Linked DNA regions of Homo sapiens: regions 1 and 3 are each linked to region 2. Evidence: promoter capture Hi-C in 16 types of primary human blood cells and fetal thymus (Javierre and others, 2016). All regions are on one chromosome and are shown on one strand. The core of a region is centred on a gene start or on the middle of the fragment in contact, and the rest is flanking DNA. Distances in the headings are between cores, read along the strand shown. Region 1 holds the start of KLHL40 (kelch like family member 40). Region 2 has its middle 16 kb from the start of LYZL4. Region 3 holds the start of HHATL-AS1 (HHATL antisense RNA 1).

Region 1 (2,907 bases), core at 408-2,907, 260 kb after region 2:
AAAATTAGCCGGGAGTGGTGGTCAGCGCCTGTAATCCTAGCTACTAGGAAGGCTTAGGCAGGAGAATTGCTTGAACCCTGGAGGCGGAGGTTGCAGTGAGCTGAGATTGCGCCATTGCACTCCAGCCTGAGCAACAAGAGCGAAACTCCGTCTAAAAACAAAAGGGACAGAGAGTGATATTGCTGAGATCACAAAAGGGAGGTGACTCAGTCCTAGCCCAGCCTGCTGTCATCTCTCCTATACCCACCCCCTCCCCCACTCCCCCGCCTGACGTTATAAACAAGTGACTCAGAGGAATGATGGGGGTGTGTCTCATAATAGTTCATTCCAATGTCCTGGGGGCTAAATTTAACACACAGCTGCAGCCTCTGGCACTTTGGGAACAAGTTAATCTTGGTGACTGAGGCTGATGTGTGTGTGTGTGTGTGTGTGTGTGTGTCTGGTGGTGGGGCGGGGTGGGGAGGGTGTGGGGAGGGGTGTCAGTAGTCTAGAACAAGGTAGGCATCAAGACTGGCTGTCCTGGGCTTCAACCCTGGTCCCTCAGACCATAGACAAGGTGCAGGGGCCCCATGGCCAGGCAGTCTCAGGTCTGGCCTAATATGCACCAAGAATAGTGAGTATAGATAGCTAAAGTCCTGAAATATTAAACTTGTAGTGTTACTTTTTGAACACTAGAATTCAGAATGTCACTCCCTAGAATGTTAAAACCCCGGGGGTTTAAAAACCTAGAATAGTAGAATCCTAAGAAATTAATTTGCTAGCACATCTGACACCTTAGAAGTGTTAAAACTAATAGTGTACTCCCAGGACACAGTACCTTGGTGCTTCTAAACTTCCAGCAGAGTTGAACTGAGGTCCTTAGCATCTAACTTTGCCACCTCCTCATTGTGTAGGAAGGGAAACTGTGGCTTAACAGAGCGACATGCCCTGCCCCAGGCCTCATAGGAAAGTGGCAACCTTGTTTACCTAAGGTACCTTCTTGCTTTCTTGCAAGGAGGAGGGACAGAAAGAGGAAAAGCTCTTCCCATTTTAAAGGTGAGGCAACGGGGGTGGTGTCTTATGTCTGTAATCTCAGCTACGAGGGAGGCTGAGGCAGAAGAATGGCTTGATCCCAGGAGTTCAAGTCCAGGCTGGACAACATAGTGAGACCCTGCCTCTTAAAATAAAGGCAGGGCAACAGGGCCGCCAAAAAGTGAACACCATGTCCAACTTCTGACCAGAAAACCCAAGCACCCTGTATCCAGGGGTAGCTGGAGTGAGACATATTCCGGGGGGGAAGATGGAGGCACCAGGACAGAAGTTCCCAGAAAGCATGAAGGAAGGGAGACCCTGGAAGAGAGGCTCCAGTGCTTTCCCGTCTCTGGACTGAGGGTCAGAGCTTAGGCCACCTTCTCCCCTAGGGGCATCTCCTGACCAAAGAATCCAGAGTCAAGACCTCTCCGTGCTCCATTTAGAAATGAGGCAGCCAGGCCCTCATCTTTCAGAAGGGCCCAGACACCCCACCCCCGTCCCATAAGCCCCCGGGGCTGAGTCAAGTCTTTCTCTGGGAGGGGGCCTCTGCCCAGCTGTCCCCTGTGCGTCATGTGCAGGAGGCCAGGCGGCTCGCCTTACAGGGACCCGGCCACCTCTATATATAGCCCCTCGAAGACAGCTGCTCAGTCTAAGCAAACCCCAGCAGGAAAGCAGGGGTACAGAGAGGAGCCCCCTTGGCACCGCCACCGCACCCTAGGCCACCCACCATGGCGCTGGGCTTGGAGCAGGCGGAGGAGCAGCGGTTGTACCAGCAGACGCTCCTGCAAGACGGGCTCAAAGACATGCTGGACCATGGCAAGTTCCTCGACTGTGTGGTGCGGGCGGGCGAGCGCGAGTTCCCGTGCCATCGCCTGGTGCTGGCCGCCTGCAGCCCCTACTTCCGGGCGCGCTTTCTAGCCGAGCCGGAGCGCGCGGGCGAGCTGCACCTGGAGGAGGTGTCCCCGGACGTGGTGGCCCAGGTGCTGCACTACCTGTACACATCAGAGATCGCGCTGGATGAGGCGAGCGTGCAGGATTTGTTCGCCGCGGCACACCGCTTCCAGATCCCTTCCATCTTCACCATCTGCGTGTCCTTCCTGCAGAAGCGCCTGTGCCTCTCCAACTGCTTGGCCGTCTTCCGTCTCGGCCTCCTGCTCGACTGCGCGCGTCTCGCCGTGGCTGCCCGCGACTTCATCTGCGCTCACTTCACGCTGGTGGCGCGCGACGCTGACTTCCTCGGACTCTCGGCCGACGAGCTCATCGCCATCATCTCCAGCGACGGCCTTAACGTGGAGAAGGAGGAGGCAGTGTTCGAGGCGGTGATGCGGTGGGCGGGTAGCGGCGACGCCGAGGCGCAGGCTGAGCGCCAGCGCGCGCTGCCCACCGTCTTCGAGAGCGTGCGCTGCCGCTTGCTGCCGCGCGCCTTTCTGGAAAGCCGCGTGGAGCGCCACCCTCTCGTGCGTGCCCAGCCCGAGTTGCTGCGCAAGGTGCAGATGGTGAAGGATGCACACGAGGGCCGCATCACCACGCTGCGGAAGAAAAAGAAGGGGAAGGATGGAGCCGGGGCCAAGGAGGCTGATAAGGGCACAAGCAAAGCCAAAGCAGAGGAGGATGAGGAGGCCGAACGTATCCTTCCTGGGATCCTCAATGACACCCTGCGCTTCGGCATGTTCCTGCAGGATCTCATCTTCATGATCAGTGAGGAGGGCGCTGTGGCCTACGATCCAGCAGCCAACGAGTGCTACTGTGCTTCCCTCTCCAACCAGGTCCCCAAGAACCACGTCAGCCTGGTTACCAAGGAGAACCAGGTCTTCGTGGCTGGAGGCCTCTTCTACAACGAAGACAACAAAGAGGACCCCATGAGCGCATACTTCCTGCAGGTGCCTGACCAGCCTT
Region 2 (3,208 bases), core at 432-2,931:
CATTTTTTCAGACTACAGATTATTGATTTCTGGCAAGCCAGAGAAGGAAGAAGCTCCTGCCAGCCAGATCCCAGGATTAGGGTGATTCCCTATAACCCTAGGGAAAGGGCTTTGCCTCAGCAGTAGAGTTTGGTCTCTGCAACCAGACAGACCTAAAATAAAATCCAGGCTCCTCCACTTATTAACTTATGCCACCTCTGGGTCTCCATTTTCCCATTTAGGAAAAATGGGTGCTAGCCTGGCCAACATGATGAAAGAAATCCCGTCTCTACCAAAAAATGCAAAAATCAGCCAGGTGTGGTATTGCGCACCTGTAGTCCCAGCTACTCAGGAGGCTGAGGTGGGAGAATCACTTGAACCGGGGAGCTGGAGGTTGCAGTGAGCCGAGATTGTGCCAGTGCACTCCAGCCTGGGTGACAGAGTGAGAACTTGTCTCAAAAAAAAAAAAAAAAGAAAAGAAAAGAAAAAGAAAAATGGGTGCATTAACACCTCTCCTACAAAGGTATTAAGAGAATTTGAGAGCCCCTACCTCTCTCCTCCTGCAGAGGTCAGGTTCATCTCTGCCATTCACAAACACAACTCCCAAAGTACTAGGGAATTGACTTATTGCTTTGAATGTTAGCAAAGGAAAAGACTCAAAAATGCGTCATGCTTACCCTGTACACACTGTTACTCAGGGTAACTAAAAAGTTGAGGGGGAGTTTCCTTTTATAGAAGAATGTTTGCAAAAAAATGCAGAAGCAATGATGGAAATAGAACATCACCAGTTTGCAACTGCTAATGAACTAGTGGATTTGGGCACTGAGCCTCAATAGCTGCTCACATCCCCAAAACATAGAGTGCTGGATAGTGTATGCCTCCTGATGGAAGCACGCCCACGAAGCGATCTTGCCGAAAAGCATTGAACCAGAATCTGGTCAAGCCTCTATCAAACCACCAATTTCCAAATAACTGCAGGGGACAGAGGAACTTGCTTTATTTCATCATGAAGATGCAATCAACAACATCCAGACCATGGAGGATTCTACAGGGGAACAACCTACTTTCTTCAACATGTAATTTTTTAAAAAAGAGAGAAAAAGAGAGATTGAAAGGGAACCTGCTGAATAAAAGAAATTTATCAACTGATTAAAATTCATGAGTCTTATTTGGATCTTAATAGAAATGAACCAACTATAAAATAAATTTGAAGTAATCTGAGAAATATGAATGCTGACTATATATAATAAGGAATTACTAAATTTAAATGAAGTAATGGCTGGTGGGTCGTGGTAGCTCACGACTGTAATCCCAGCACTTTGGGAAGCTGAGGCAGGCAGATCACTTGAGGTCAGGAGTTCAAGGCCAGCCTGGCCAACATGGTGAAACCCCGTCTCTACTAAAAATACAAAAATTAGCTGGGCATGGTGGCGCATGGCTTTAATCCCAGCTACTCAGAAGGCTGAGATGGGAGAATCACTTGAACCCAGGAGGCGGGGGTTGCAGTGAGCAGAGATCGTGCCCTTGCACTCCAGCCTGAGCGACAGAGTGAGACTCCGTCTCAATAAACAAACAAACAAACAAACAAACAAATAAATAAATAAACTGCAGTAATGGTATTGTGATTATGTTTTTAAAGATAAATATTTATCTTTTTAGATACATAATGAAATTTTTATGAATAAAATTATACACTTTCTGGGATTTGCTGCAGAATAATCTGGGAGGGCATTGGGGGAGCACATTGATATGAACTATCACTGAATGTGGTCAATATGGGGTACATGTGGGTTCATAATTTTTTCTCCAAATTGTGTATATGTTTGAAATATTACCTAATTAAAAGTTGAAAAAACTCCCAAGCACTGGTGAGTAATGTAGGTTCTATTGAAGATTTGGGAACAGGATAGGGAGCTGGATTGGAAAGTGGAATGTATTCAAATGCTCCCACTGGACATCCAACCCCTCCCCACACACCTACCTCCTGACCTCCCCCTGCAGTCCAGTGTACTCCACTCAGCAAAACCGAGTCTTCCATGGAGCCCATGGAGCTTCCATGGGCAGCTTCTCAGGCCTGCCCTCTGGGGCCTCCATTCATCCTGCCACAGTGTCAAAGGGCTGACCACAGTGGATATTCAATAAGCATCCACTCTTCTTCCAGATAGCAAAACCCATTTAGGTGTCATGATCCAATCATGAGCACATGAGTACAGGCTGAATAGACCCTAAAAGAAATAAAGGTGAAATTACCAGAAGTATGAAACAACCCAGCTCTTTGTGGGTGTAGTCCCATGGCTGCAGAATCATTTAGGAGCTTTTTACAAATAAATATTCCAGTGCATGGGTGCAACCGCGTGTGCGTGCGCGTGCGCATGCGCGCACACACACACACACACACACACACACACACACACACACACACACACAGAGTCACCCTAATGACTCAGTATTGCTGAGGTAGGGCAGGGTTACCTGTATTGTCTCAAAGTCCCTCCAGATTCAGCCAGCCTAGTCTGAGCCCAGAGCTTAGAAACTGTTGGCGGGGCCCATAAAATGTAGCAATACATATGGGGAGAGAGAGAAGAAGAGAAATGATCAATTATCTATTGCTCAGAGTCTACAAGGCACAGATCCAAATCAGGCCCCAGAAAATGAATTCACTGAATGATCAATTCCCCCCAAACTGTGGAGCAAAGTATATACATGGGGTCTAGGATACACAGTGGCAACTTTTCGTTGTAGTGCCCTTCTGCCCGCCGGCCTGTGGGGAGTAGGGGCAATAGAGGGAATGTCCTTTCCCTGCCATCTGCCCATCAGTCCTGCCCATAGTACCCCCTGGATGGAACCCTGCTCCATTCCCTTCTACCACTCCTCCCTACAGAAAGGCTTGGTCTTCCTGACCCTGTTCTCCAGCTCCCACTGAGCTCCAAACCACCAAGATCAACTGGAGAATGGAGAGTGCTGTAGCCACATAGCTTCTTCCTGTCTTCAGATTGAGGAAGGTGAGGAGCAGGGGAAGGGTTCACTTCTCTACTCCTCCTCTCTTCTTGTGAAAACATTAGCAATCACCTCCCCCTCTGCTGGGATCCACGGCTCCTGCATCACCCTGGAAGTATTGCAATTAATTGTGAGCTTTTAGGGGCCCAGACTGTGGCTCAGCCTTCTTTGTGGCCCCCAGCAGGCACACAAGGATTGCATGTTGAATACGTGAGTGGATACTTGCTGAACA
Region 3 (3,180 bases), core at 155-2,654, 280 kb after region 2:
AGAGGCACCGGCCCCACCCTCTGCCAAAACCGCTCCTGCCAAGGCCCCCATGACCTGCGTGCGGAGAAACCCCACCTCTATCACTACAGTCAGGTTTCTGCCTGCAGGGTCCCCACCTCGATCAGTGAGTCTCCCTTAGCTCCTCACAAAGCCCCAGCTTCTCTAAGACCCTTTCTCTGACTCCCACTCCCCTCCCTGAGATCCCATGACCACCCCAGGTGCTGCCCCTAGAGCCAAGCCTCCATCCTCGCATTAAGCCTCCAGCCTGTCACTGACCCCCATTCCCCCAACAAGTCCCTGAGCTCCAGCCTGTCACATCCCAGTCCCTGCCTGTGTCCGTGACCACACTGCCCCACTCTCTCAGCGCTCTGTGTATTCAGGCCCTGGGCACCAGCTGGAGGCTGTGCTATTTGAGGAGGTGCCCAGGAGTAGCGGATGTGGGGCCAGGCGGGGCCAGGCGGGGCCAGGGAGGGCACTGGCTGCTGTCCAAGGTGCTGACCAGAATCAGGCCCCGGCTGAGTCTCACCACTCCCTCCAGCGGGGGCCTAGCTTGTCCCCTGGAGAACTGCTGGGCCGTACTACGGCTCAGCTAGCACCTTTACCCTTCCTATCCCGCTTCAGCCTGGCTCAGGGGCTTCCCAAGGACTCCATGGATACAGACATAGGACCCAAATTAAAGGGAGGAAGCAGGGAACATGTCCAGGCAACTCTTGGGCTGACGGGGCCAAGAGGTGGCTGATGTGGCCCTTTTGCCCACCCTTGATCCTCCCCTAAATCTTCATCCCCAGCCCTGTAGCCATCTCCCCTGGGCCCCCCAGCAGCCGACGGTCTCCTCGTACAGATGGAGGGGTCATGGGCCAGATAGGGGCAGGGACCTGTCAAGGTCACATGGCAGACCTGGGACAGACTTCTGCCTGCCTCCCTTCAGGATTGGGTTTCTCAGTGACCCCCCTCTGGAATCTGGGGTAAGAGAAGACCACCACTGCCCCTGCCCACAGCAGAGGCTGCCAGCCTGATGGCTGTGCTGTCGGCCTGAGGGTGGAGGCACCTCCTCATCAGTTGGGTGGGGGTGGAGAGGCCCTGGGGATCAGGTTAATGGAGCAGGAGCTTGAAACCGGAGCATGGTGAAGAGCCCGTGAAATAGCTTTGTCAGCTGCCTCCCACTCGCCACTTTCCAATTTTAGCTCCCCATGGCCGGTGCGGGGTGTCCCCAGTGAGGCCTCTGCAAGGAGCTGGCCCCCAGCCTGGGGCCTCTCCTGATAGACCCCCAGACCAGGGCTGGCCTGTGGACACGGGGGCATACCCTTTCCCCTGGTCCTGCCTGCCCCAGATGCCCCGGGGGTAAAGCCCCTTTTGGGGCCTGTGATTTGGGATGAGGGCCTGGGGTGTGCCCCACAAGTCTCAAGAGCCCCAGAGTAGCTGCATCCCCAGCTGGCACTGACCTTGAGGAGGCCGCAAGGGACCCTGGCACACTGCCCACCTCAGGCTCTGGGGTCCGGCTTCCAACTGTCCGTCCGTGCGACCGGCTGAGCTCTGGGGCCACGGTGGGGTGTGTCCAGCCCTGGGGTCCCCACCCCCTTGAGGTTATGAGCGGTGAGTGGTGACAGCGGGAGGAGGAGGGGGAGGAGGAGGTGGCCTTCCTGGAGCGGAGCTGAGCAGAGTGGAGCAGAGCCGAGTGCTGCAGAGCTGCTGGCCACAGGGAGCCGCAGGGAGGATCCTTGAAGGGGGGCGGGTGCTGGGTGGGGGGAGGGTGTCCAGTAGCATAGGCTCAGACAGGGACACCTGGGCCTCTCTTCAGCCTGCCTCCCCTGGCTCCTAGAGAGCCTGTGCCTCTCTCTCACTGCTACCCAGGACTTCCCTCTTCCAGGAAGACTCCTGGTGGTCCCACCAGCCTCTCCAGGCTTGTAAGCCCTGCCCCCACCACAGACACACACAGTCACAACATGCAAACACTTTCATGCTTGGGCTCCAGGGACTCCAGCTCCTACCTTTACATATGACCTCCTAAGGGCTATCCCAGGGCAGACTTGTCTCGCCCCATGACCTGGTCCTTTTCATTATGCCGTGAGTCCTGGCTGGCCATGCATCAGTGCCTGAGGGAGGGCTGACTTGCCTGATGGGACTGGAACTGGCATGGGACATGTGGCTGAGAGGGATCCCCATAAGTCAGCCCTGTCCCATAGGGAGTGTCCTGGATGGAGGGGTGCTAGCAGGGTCACTTGGCAAGGCTTGTGGGTACTTGGAATGGCTGGTATCCTCTCGGTGGCAGAGTGGAGGCAGACAGGAAGACAGGTGTGTTCCTAACCAACTGGGAGTCCTGGTAGGACAGGGCCCTCATTCTGGAAGGGAGCATCCAAGGCCTCAGCCCTGGATACCTGAGGGGAGGGGCATCCTGAAGGTGCCCCTGAGATTAAGAACCTCTGACAGTGCCCCTTCGGTTGAGGCCAAGTCTCGGGCAGCTGTATGTGTCTGTGCTATCTAGGGGGACCTGTTCACCTGTGTGCTTGTGGGGAGGCTCTCGGGGGTAGAAGGAGCTTTGTGGCTGTGATCAGTCACAGGACAGCTCCTGGAGCCCCTGCTGATCCTATGACCCCAGCTTCAGGCTCAGTTGAGGAGGCAGGAGGGAGGTGCTGCTCCCCACCCATCAGGGCCCAGGAAGGGGAGAGACTGCACTTAGGCAGGGAGCTGCCTCCCGAGCACATAGACACGCTGGCCTGGAGAACAGCAAGGAGACGCCCAACCTACACACTCCACACAGGACACAGAGGCCCGTGTCTGTGGTCCCCGACCCTGAGAAGCATGAATGGTGACTACTGCACAGTGTGGGTGCTGGGTTAGAGCTGTGGTGGGTAATGGGCACTAGAGAGGCCAGCATCAGGAAGGGAAGGATACCTGAGCCAGACTTCAGGGTTAAGGAGGGCTTCCTCAGGGAGGGGTAGTCAAAGGTTGTTAGGAGTAAGTTAATCATAGTAGCCAGGATGTACATGGATTAACTTTTTAATGTCACCACAGCCCATAGGGAAGATGTTGCCACTGTACGCAGTTGGGAGAAGAAGGACCTGGCACATGAGGAAGCCAAGTAGTTGGATCAGCCCTGTAAGCTCCTGGCACTGACTGCCCTGCAGGGGCGACAACCCCGTGCACCCACACTGGGGCCCTCACGAGGCTCCAAGAAAATGG

The links. The method cuts DNA at HindIII sites, captures the fragments that hold promoters and counts their contacts. A CHiCAGO score of 5 or more calls a contact.
Region 1: the fragment with the promoter of KLHL40 here is called in contact with a fragment that was not itself captured in region 2 in 2 of 17 cell types (activated CD4 T cells and total CD4 T cells); the score reaches 6.0 in activated CD4 T cells.
Region 3: a contact is called between the fragment with the promoter of HHATL-AS1 here and a fragment that was not itself captured in region 2, in 5 of 17 cell types (activated CD4 T cells, total B cells, naive B cells and 2 more). The highest score is 6.2, in activated CD4 T cells.

Annotation. Positions count from the first base shown.
Region 1 is chr3:42,683,880-42,686,786 of GRCh38, forward strand. KLHL40 (kelch like family member 40) reads left to right here and starts at 1,658. Exons shown (of 6, transcript NM_152393.4): 1 at 1,658-2,891. The coding sequence starts at 1,740. RefSeq lists enhancers at 1-315, 138-432. The HindIII fragment of the contact is 7,370 bases long and covers 1-2,907 here.
Region 2 is chr3:42,425,400-42,428,607 of GRCh38, forward strand. No RefSeq gene overlaps it. Among named protein-coding and RNA genes, the nearest start is that of LYZL4, 16 kb to the left of the region's middle. The HindIII fragment of the contact is 3,859 bases long and covers 1-3,208 here.
Region 3 is chr3:42,701,137-42,704,316 of GRCh38, forward strand. It overlaps HHATL-AS1 (HHATL antisense RNA 1), which reads left to right and starts at 1,405. Exons shown (of 3, transcript NR_146957.1): 1 at 1,405-1,593; 2 at 3,013-3,096. It overlaps HHATL (hedgehog acyltransferase like), which reads right to left and starts at 1,662. Exons shown (of 12, transcript NM_020707.4): 1 at 1,443-1,662. It also overlaps a transcript of CCDC13 not described here. RefSeq lists a silencer at 378-447. The HindIII fragment of the contact is 10,429 bases long and covers 1-3,180 here.